Regions from separate parts of the Homo sapiens genome. Here region 2 is linked to region 1. Evidence: promoter capture Hi-C in 16 types of primary human blood cells and fetal thymus (Javierre and others, 2016). All regions are on one chromosome and are shown on one strand. Each heading gives the region's core, a stretch centred on a gene start or on the middle of the fragment in contact. The rest is flanking DNA. Distances are from core to core; before and after follow the strand shown. Region 1 holds the start of PANK4 (pantothenate kinase 4 (inactive)). Region 2 overlaps TTC34 (tetratricopeptide repeat domain 34).

Region 1 (4,752 bases), core at 804-3,303:
AGAGTATCCTTCTACCAAGAAACCCCCTGGGCTCAGCCTGGAGAACAGGCTGGTACTCCAGGGCCCTCTAGGGCTGCGACAGCCCTTCCTGGACAGCCCCAGCTCTGCGGCTTCACTGGCCTCTCGGGGCCACACAGAACATCCACGGTGAGCCCTGTTCTCCTGGCCATTCCCCAAGTGACTTATGCAGGTCAACTGCAATTGCATTTCAGAAACATTTAATCCCGACTTGCTTCCAGTAACAGAATCCCCCAGTGTAAGGGCAGCAGAACCTTGCAGAGCACACGCTCTACCGGGCCTCAAGGTCTCAGAAGGCTGGGAAGCATGGCTGGGGAGCCTCTGGTGAGGCCTGCGGTAGACAATCCCCTAGGCTAGGGCTGCAAGCTCAGCACCTGCAGCCCAATAACCAGTCAGTCCCAAGTCCTATCAGCGGTCCCTAAAGATGCTACTCACACGTTCTCATACCTGGCACCAGGCCACACCCCCTAAGAAGCATTGCCTCCCATAAGCTCACTGAAAGGTGGGAGCCAGGACCTATAGCTACTTCCATTCTCATCGCCCCCCACTTCCCTAGAGGACACCCTTCCCTGGCTGGACATCTCAGAGAGATGATGACACCAACAACCCCGAGGACACCACAGCAGCAAACATGTCAGATGCACCAGGAGCACACAGCTCAGAGGGAATGGCCTGGGTCTCTCTGAGTCCCAGCTTTTCCAGGGAGGTGGGAAGCAGTCAGCGGCAGGCCCATTCATCCCAGTATTTACTGGGCGGCAAAGACAGGTTGGGCATCCTTTTCGGGGGCTGGGGCTACAAGACACACCGCTGCTCTTGTGGGATTCACACACAAGCAGACTCAGCCTACGACCGAGATGAGTGCTAAGAGGGAGAGGTATGTGAAGCCGCAGCGGCTATTCAAGGGGGGTTTCTCCAGGTGAAGCTGCCCCCAGGAAGCCCTCATGCCTGAAACATGGGCAGAGTAGGAGAGCAGGGAGTGGCTGGTTCAAATCCTGGTTCTGCCACTTTCTAGCCCGATGACCCTGGGCAAATTAGTTCACCTTTCTGGGGCTTGGTATCCTCATCTGCGAAAAGGGAGTAATTCGCGTTCCTCCCCTAGAGGTGGCTGGGAGGTGTCCGGGAGTCAGGAGCGTGGGAAAAAGGTCTAGAACAGAGCCTGGCCCGCCGTCATTACTGAGAGCACAGCCATCAGGCAGGAGGGTCTGCAGCGGACCCTGGAGAGGCCAGGGCAGAAGTGCAGGCCGCCTTAAAGGCCACGGAAGGCACGGGTGGCTTTTAAACCAGAGGCACGAGTTCCCAGGTCCCACGTCCACGGCCGCCTGAACTCACGCCCGGCGTCCACTCTCCAGAGAGCGGGGCCTGTGCACGGACTGTCCGGCCCGCGGGCCACAGCTGGCCACGCCGCGGGAACGCGCGGCCTTTTCGGGGCCACTCTGCCAAGGGCTTCCCGCCGAGCTCGTCCTCGTCTCGACCAGAACTAAGGACCCCAAATCTCAGGCCAGCCACCAGCCAAGCGGCGGAGCCGGGGCGCCCAGATGCCGATGTGGCCGAAGACATAAAATTCCGCCGACCCTCCCACCTCGCGGCGGGTAACGCTGGACCCCGGCCCCCAGCCACCCAGGACGGCCGCGCGAACTACCAGGCCCGGCAGGCCCCGCTCTGGTCCCTGCGGCGCCTGCCGGTAGCTGTAGTCCGGCCGTCGCCCCGAGCCCGCGCATCAGCGACCCTGCGGACTACAAGGCCCGTGAGGCTGTGCGCGGGCCCGCGGACTACAAGGCCCGTGAGGCTGTGCGCGAGGCCCGCGCCCCCGCCCTTCGTCCTTCCCGCCGCCCCCGCTCGCCGGCCCACCGCCGGCGCCCCGCCCGCCCCCGCAGCCCGCGCCCGGCGCCCGGCCTGCGGCTACCTATGTCGATGGCGAAGCGCTTGGCGTTCTCCAGGTTGCGGAAGATCTCGTCGGGGGGCAGCGTGATGCTCTTGTCCAGACTGTCCCCGCTGCTCCCGCTGCCGCTCGCTCCACACTCCGCCATTTTGAAAGTGCCCGGCCAGCTCATCAGCCATGGAGATATATGCGCATATATTTGACTGCCAAACGCCCCCTCGCATAGATTATGTTAATGAGGCGCCGGCCCCGCCCCTTCCCTCCCCCACCCCCGGCCTCTGAGGTCTCGGCCGCTACAGGGCGAGCTAGGGCCAGTGCTGGGCAGGGGTCCGAGAGGCCCGGGGCTGCGGGCGGGCGGGCGGTTATCCTCCAGAGATCGCGCATCAGCACAGAACATCTGGACTGATGTTCTTTTACCGCGCTGTCCACAGGCTTAACTCAAGTGCTCTGAGCCCTGCTGAGGGAGGCCGCAGAGGCCGCCCACCTGCTTCTAAGGGGGCACGTGGGTCTGCAGACTGTCAGAGAGCCCTGCCCTTCAGCGAGTGCCTGCTGTAAGCTTGGCCCTGCACGCCAGGGCGAATGTGATGCGCTCTTTGCTAGGGTGACTCAATCCTGGCTTCCCAGGGGCGTGGGACTTTCAATGTTAAAAGTCCCATGCAAACCAGAGGAGTGGGGAACCCTGCCCCACCTGGGAGGAGCCCCAGCCTGGCATGCACCTGCGGGTAGGGAAGATGTGTGCTGTAATGGCGATCCGTGGAAAGTGCTGTGGTCGGGGGAAGCCAGGCAGGCTGCCTGTGGGCAAGACAGGTGCCTGGGAGGCTGCAGGAACAAGCCTTGGAAGCAGCTGGAGCCAGGACAGGGGTATAGGTGGGGCAGGCCAGGGTTCCAGGGTGAGTGGCTGGGAAGCCCTGCTGGCATGAAGAGATGCGTCTTCTCCAGAGGCTCTGGGCGCCTTGGGAAAAAGCCCAGTGTTGGAAGCAGACAGATCAGCCCCTCCCGGGTAACCCGGGGTCATTACTGCATGTCTCTGGCCCTCAGCCTCTGTCTGCACGTGGAGAATGCCACCAGCTGCCTGGCAGGGCTCCTGGGAGCACAGGCCTGTGGGGCGGCACAAACTCCAGGGATAATGCATCTGTGTGCGCAGGGCAAGCCTTCAGGGAGGAGGCATCCTTGCCTGTGTCTTCCAAGGGGGTGGGTGTGTGGCTCTGGAGGGGGAGCCTGCCCCAGGGAGGCCTGGGTGGAAGAGTGGAGCACACCCCAGGCGGCTTAGACCTCTGGCAGCTCAGACCCCTGGCAGCATGGTGTGCCATGGGCCAGGCTGGCAGGAGGTGCCCTCCATGAGGGGCGCCCACCTGTGTGCCCACTGAACATGCGGGAAACATGCAGGTGAATGGGGGCCTTCCCTGTCCTCTGCCCACCATACCCCGGGGCTCGGTAGGGACCACTGGCAGGCACTGGGTTGGTCTGGTGGGGGGACCCTGTCTAGACTGCCTGTGGAGTAGCCAGAAAGGGGCTGAAGGCTGAGCGGAGCGAGAGGGGCTGAGCAGGAAGGAGCAGGCAGGGCAGGCCCACACACGGGGCTACCATTCAGCGGGGGTGGGAATGCGGCCCACTCCGGCCCAATCCTTGCTGGATGGATTTTGCCCCTTGGGAGCTGGTCCCTGGGAGCCACAGGCCTCAGTTCTTGCAGACTCAGCCAACACCCTGTGGCCTGCCTAAAAATACATGCCCTTTCTGAGGCAAGGGATGGCCCCGTGCAGGCTCCTGCCAGGACTGCCAGATCCTGCCTTGGCACGGTGGCCAGCGGGCAGGTGTCCCCGGAGCCCATGCCAGGACTGGCGCTGCAGGCCGTGGGAGTGTGCAGCAGCAACTCGGGGCAAATGTTTTCTCCTGTTTGGCCCAGGGCCAAGCCCCTTTGGCTGTAGCAACAGATCTACTGCGGGCTGTGGCCCTGGGTCGCCTCTCAGTGGACACAGCCTAAGGTCCTGCGCTGTCACCTTGCCCCACCCCTACCTTCCGGAAGCTAGTGAAAGGCCTGGGCGGGGGGAGACCCAGGGCTCCGACCATGTCCACCCCTCCAGCCCACCTCCCCCTGCCCCTGCCCCTCACCTGCTTTCCCTCCATCCCTCCCTCCCCCTGTTCTTCCGGAGCAAGGACCCCACCCTTCTTCCGGGGTCCAGGGGGCCACTGGCAGGGGTCCCTCCCTGCTTAACTGCTACCATGGCCCTGCCCATTCCCCTTCACCCCTGCAGACCCGCTCCATGGCTGCCAAGGACAGGCGTGAGGCACAGCAGACGACACTGTGTTGGGGGCTGAACAATCAGATTTTATTATGGCGGCTTCGGAGCAGTCCCGTGGCTTCCACGTGACTGAGAGTTCAATTTCTGAGTACAAAGTCGTGCCCACACGCATCCACCCACACAGAGGAATCCTTTAAGGATCATAGTGGAGGCACCCACCCTCCCCAGACAGCCCACCGTGAGCCCCAGCCAGACCACCAGGCACACTCAGGAGCCTTTTGGCCATGGCCCTCAGGGTCCTGGACGCCCGTCCGGGGTGATCACTGTTTCCTATGAGGATACAGCTCGAGTTCGGCCTTCACAAAAGGCAAATGTGCCCGCGGCACAGCCCGCCTGCCAGGGGTACGCCCAGCAGCTACGGGCCCTGAAGAAAGTCCTCTACAGGCTGGGGGCAGCAGTGTGCGAGCCCCGGCACTACAAATATCATAGAACCCCGGGCGGCCGGGGACTTCCCAGAAGTCACTTGCTTAAATGCAAACACAGAACAACCCCATGGGGTCAGACACTTGGCAGAAGATGGGCCCTGATTGTCCTAAAACGGCAGGGACTCTGCAC
Region 2 (4,752 bases), core at 382-2,881, 110 kb after region 1:
ACAGAGAATGTGTGCACAGTGCCAGGCACAGGTGTGGTCAAGATTCACCTGGGAGAGGAAGTGGGCAGGGGCAGAGGAGTGTGCCCACCTGAGCTGAAAGGCTGCATGGCAGGTGACCATTATCACCAGTGTCGCCAGCCAGGTCACCTCTCTGAATTTTGTGGTTGCAACCTCCATGATTCCCTAGAGCTGTTTTTACCCAGAACTAATGAAAAATTCTGCACATTAAATTCATGCTATTAGAATCACTGTTGTGGTTTCCATCTCCCAAGTAGACCCCAACTGATACATAAATTCATACTAGGAGGGGGTCCCCAGAGACAGGCCCTCAAAGTGACACAGTCAGGTACCTCTTTGGTCACTTTGCCAGCCAGGTACCTCTGGCTGCTGACACCCCCCCTCCCCAGGCCTCTCTTGGCCATGCTACCTGCCGCAGGAGGTGGCCCACCCACTCAGCCTGCCTGGGCCACACCTGGCTGTTCACCAGCTCAGCCTGTGGCTGGGCTGGGCATGTTCCAGCCTGCTTGTGTTATAGCTTGTACCCATGTATGGCAGTTCCCAAGTTCTTGTCCCGTGTCCAAGAAGAATGAGGAGATGCTGCCAATCGAAGTGTGAGAAGGGCAGAGAAGAATTTTATTGAGAGACGGAACAGCTCTCAGCAGAGAGGGGATGCACGGGTGGTTCCCGACCTGAAGTCAGGTGGTTTCTCTCCTAGTGTGGCTGGGTCCGGGGCATTTATGGGCTCAGAATGGGGGAGTGCATGCTGATTGGCTTCTGATTATGCAAAAAAGGCTTAAACAAAGGTACCACTCAAAGGTGGGCATGCCAGTGTAGAAAATGAATTAGGAAAAGATAGGTACATGTAAAATAGGTGAAGGGTGGGGATCAATCAGAGGAAAGCAGCCAAATGGGAAGATGGGTTCTCAATCCAGGCTGAGGATTTAATTTGTAGCTTGGCTTTCAGGCTTTAAACTGTCTTTGGCTCGGAGGTGGGGTTTCACTGGGAACCTGTCCCTGTCTGCCTAGGATTTGTCTGCCTCCTGTCACTATCAAAAGGTGGGGTCCGGGGATTAGGTTAGTGTGGTTGTTGCTTGGGCTGGGCTGCAGGCCGATCTCCTGGCCAGTGGGAAGGGGAGGCTGTTGGCCCACAGTGTTGTTGGGGGAGCTTCACAGTTAACCAAGCCATCCCCCATGCTGGCTGTGAGGCACCAGCAGAATTGAGGGCCTCGGGAACCCACGTGCTGCTGTGTGAGGCTGTCACGGCCACGAGGATGACCACAACCACGAGGGCTGTGGGGGGTCCCCTGAGTGTCCAGCAGCACTAACAGGAAGGAACCACACGTTCAGGTCTCTAAACTCAGTTTAAGTCATAGACAGAGAATCAGGACTGCCATGGCCATGGAAGAGTCCCTTGTTCCTGAGAGCCTCGGGGCTGCTGCTGCTACAACTCGGATGCACAGTTTAACTCTGAGTTGTGTGACTGCTGTGTGGCTCACACTCACAGCCTCACTACTGAAACGTGGGCACTGAGTGGGAAGGAACTGGATGCTGAAGCTTGGCATGGGGATGTCTGGTTGGGCTCAGATGAAGCTGAGAATTGTGAACCCCCTGGTTCTCTGAGCCTCTCCTTCCAGGGGAAGCAGCTTGTCCTCCAAGATCTGAGAGTAGCCTTTATTTATTTTTTTTGTTCTGCTTGAAAATGCTGTGATAAGCTTACCTGGCCAGGTGCCTAGAAATGATGCTCATTTTATTTAACCACCATAGCCACCCTGTTGCCTCTAGAACCTCAGTGTACTCCCAGGGAGGGGAAGGGTCAAGTACAAAGCCTGACTCAGGAAGGAACCACTTTCACACCAAAATGCTCGTAAGATGTTACAAATTCACACACGGAGACCTGGGAACCGTGTGGGAATGGAGGGTAGGGTATTAATGCAGCTGGACCGGCTTGGCTTTATTGATGCAGGTACACTTACTAGAGATTCTGAATTTAATGCGCTAGCTCACATTAGCTGCTGGAAATGACTCTACCAGTTTACTTGGTTGAATGAAATCTGGATTTGCTGGCGGTCTACAGTTAATGAAGGGGAGATGCTGGAATGTCCCTGGTGTAACGTCGAGGCAGGAATCGTGCAAAGCAAGGGCCACCCTCCGTCCCAGCCTGATTTCTCTCCACCTCCAGCTGAGCACTGAGGAAGACGCAGGCCGGGGACTGCCCAGGGAAGTGGTGGATCTGCAGACAGCGTGAGCTCCTGGAGCGTCAGGACCCAGAGCAGCTGTGGACATGCCCCTCCAGGCGGGACACCCAGGCCTCAGGGACGAGTGCGTCCATGCCTTAAGGGCTGCTGGTTGTGGGTGTCTGCTTGGTCCTGGAGAAACTACCTCAGGAAAAGCCAGGGCTGGACCCCAGCAGGGATGGGATAAGGGGAACCGAGACTCACCCACTGTGCTCAGGGCAGAGGTGGTGGGCCGCGGGAACGGGCATGTCTTTGTCTATCTGGACTGCCCCAACAGAATAGCAGAGACAGGTGGTTCATCAACAGATACTTATTTCTCACAGTTCTGGAGGCTGGAAGCCCAAGATGAAGGTGCCAGCTCGCTCTCTAGTGAGGATCCCTTCCTGGTTCACAGACAGCTTCTCACTGGGTCTCCACATGGTGGAGGGGCTTGGGAGAACTCTGGGGTCTCTTTTATAAGGACACTAATCCCACTCATGAGGTTCCACCCCTGGTCATCTCCCAAAAGCCCCACTTCTGATACCATAACCTTGGGGGTTAGGATCGCAACACATAAAGTTTGGGGGAATGCAGACATTCAGAGCCCAGCAAGGAGCCAGGCCAAAGGCTGATGAGAGATACCTGCTGGGTGAGCTGGTGGTAGAGGGGGCAGCCCCCTGGTGGGGGAGAAACACAGCGATCCTGAGGTCCAGGAGGAGCCTCAGCGGGGCTGGCATCTACACTCAGCCTTGCACGGATGGATGGGGCAGGACATCCCAGGCGAGGAGGACGGTAGGAGCAGGGAACGTGGTGGGGAAGGGCACCCCTAGGGGACGCCTCCCCACTGCCTCCACCTGGCCCCGACATTGGAGCAGGCCCTTCTGCTGTGACCAGGCTCTCTGGACCAGCCCTTGCCTCCTCTGCCTCAGTGCCGACTGGCCCACCTGACCCGAGGAACTTGCGTGTCCCTGAACTTAGCTCTTGGGCTGCTGACAGGTGTTTGTTGAGTCCTTGAGCACACGGGTGAAGACAGGGAGGGAAGGGTGGATGGGGAGCTGGCAGGCGGAAGATGGATCAAATTGGTGCCTGCGCTGGGGAACCCCGGAAGAGGGGGACTGCGTGAAGATTCCGAGCGGGGAAGGCGAGGAGCGGGGCTGAAGGTCCCTGTCAGGGCCCTCTCCCACTGTGGGCTGCCCATCCCCGAGGTACTCAAGGTGGGAGGCACTGACCCTTTACCCAGACCCCTGTGGCCAGAGACACATAGGCGGTGCCAGCTGATGAAGGTGCATGGGGGTTGAGGAGTGGGTGAGGCCTGAGGAGGAGGGGGGCTACCCAGCCCTGCACCTGCCGCCTGGGGGCCCCACTTCCATGCAGGGCGAGGAATAGGGCCCCTCCCTGCCTGACCCCCTGGACTGGGGTTCGTCAGATGATCCCAGAAGCGAAGTGGGTGGAGAGGCAGGGGGTCTATCTGTGGGTTCAAGACCATGGAAGGAAGCGGCAGAGAAGGGGACAGAAATGGGACAAATGCAAGTGCCCAGGAGGAGAGAGAAGCCAGGAGGGGGGGTCGTGGCCCTGTCTCCCCAGGGTGAAGTCAGGCAGGGCTTGGGGGCACGTTTTGCACCGAGTCAGCTCACCCAGCATGTCTCTCGCCCATGGCCATGAGAGAAAGCCCCGGGCTGAGGCCTCAGTCTGTGACACTCACAGTGATGGGCAAAGGCTGGCTGCCTCTGCCCCACCCAGAAGTCCCCAAGCTCACTGGCAGCTGCAAGGCCTGGGGACATTTAACGCACGTATAAGAACAAGCTGTTCTCTCGCTCTGTGGAAGCACTGATACCTCCCAGCAGCTTCGGGAGACAGGTCTGGTGGGAGCCTGGGGACTGTGCTCATCAGGGCCCCTCGGTGGTCCCTCTGCTTGGAAGGGAGGGGCCTGTGGAGGAGGGAGGAAGTTTACCCCCAGCACACTGGATTCTCGATGAAGGGCCCCCATGAAAGCACCCTGAAAGGTCAGCTTGGGGTATGGGCTGGCTGGGCCCATTTGGGAGCTCTGTCTCTGGAGAGGGCTCAGGCTCTACTGGAGGCTGGCCCAAGGCTCAGGGTCCAAGCAAAACGCAGCTTCACACCCAGGGAGGGGCTTCTGGGGCTGGTACCATCTCCCCAAGGGCCCCAGGAGTCTGGCCTCAAACCTGTCCAACCTGTAGGATCCCAGGCCAGGGACGAGACCTGGGGCTGCTTCTTCAAGGTCTGAGCCCCAGGTGTGGGCCAAGAGGGCCCCAACTGCAGGGACCAGGTTGCTGGTGGTAGAAGGGACTGTGAAGCTTCTAGGATGGTCCCTTCATGCAAGTAGGAAGCTGTCCCCTGTCCTTCCCAAGGCAGAGGTGTGAGGCTGGCTGTCCAACACTGACTCATGCTGGGGCAGGGAAGCGGGGTGTGGGGAGGGCAGGGAAGGGGGGTGTGGGGAGGGCTGGGAAGGGAGGTATGGGGAGGGCTGGGAAGGGAGGTATGGGGAGGGCTGGGAAGGTGGTGTGGGGAGGGCTGGGAA

What was found. Contacts are between HindIII fragments. The CHiCAGO score rates a contact against its expected background, and 5 or more counts as called.
Region 2: a fragment that was not itself captured here is called in contact with the fragment with the promoter of PANK4 in region 1 in 2 of 17 cell types (activated CD4 T cells and total CD8 T cells); the score reaches 5.6 in activated CD4 T cells.

The regions. Positions count from the first base shown.
Region 1 is chr1:2,524,543-2,529,294 of GRCh38, forward strand. It overlaps PANK4 (pantothenate kinase 4 (inactive)), which reads right to left and starts at 2,054. Exons shown (of 19, transcript NM_018216.4): 1 at 1,922-2,054. The coding sequence starts at 2,045. It overlaps HES5 (hes family bHLH transcription factor 5), which reads right to left. Exons shown (of 3, transcript NM_001010926.4): 3 at 4,203-4,752. RefSeq lists enhancers at 2,081-2,801, 3,523-4,243, 4,244-4,752. The HindIII fragment of the contact is 7,457 bases long and covers 1-2,451 here.
Region 2 is chr1:2,636,376-2,641,127 of GRCh38, forward strand. TTC34 (tetratricopeptide repeat domain 34) reads right to left here. Exons shown (of 9, transcript NM_001242672.3): 9 at 611-4,752. It overlaps MMEL1-AS1 (MMEL1 antisense RNA 1), which reads left to right. Exons shown (of 3, transcript NR_183343.1): 3 at 1-245. Among named protein-coding and RNA genes, the nearest start is that of MMEL1, 5.7 kb to the left of the region's middle. RefSeq lists a silencer at 1,662-1,862. The HindIII fragment of the contact is 158 bases long and covers 1,553-1,710 here.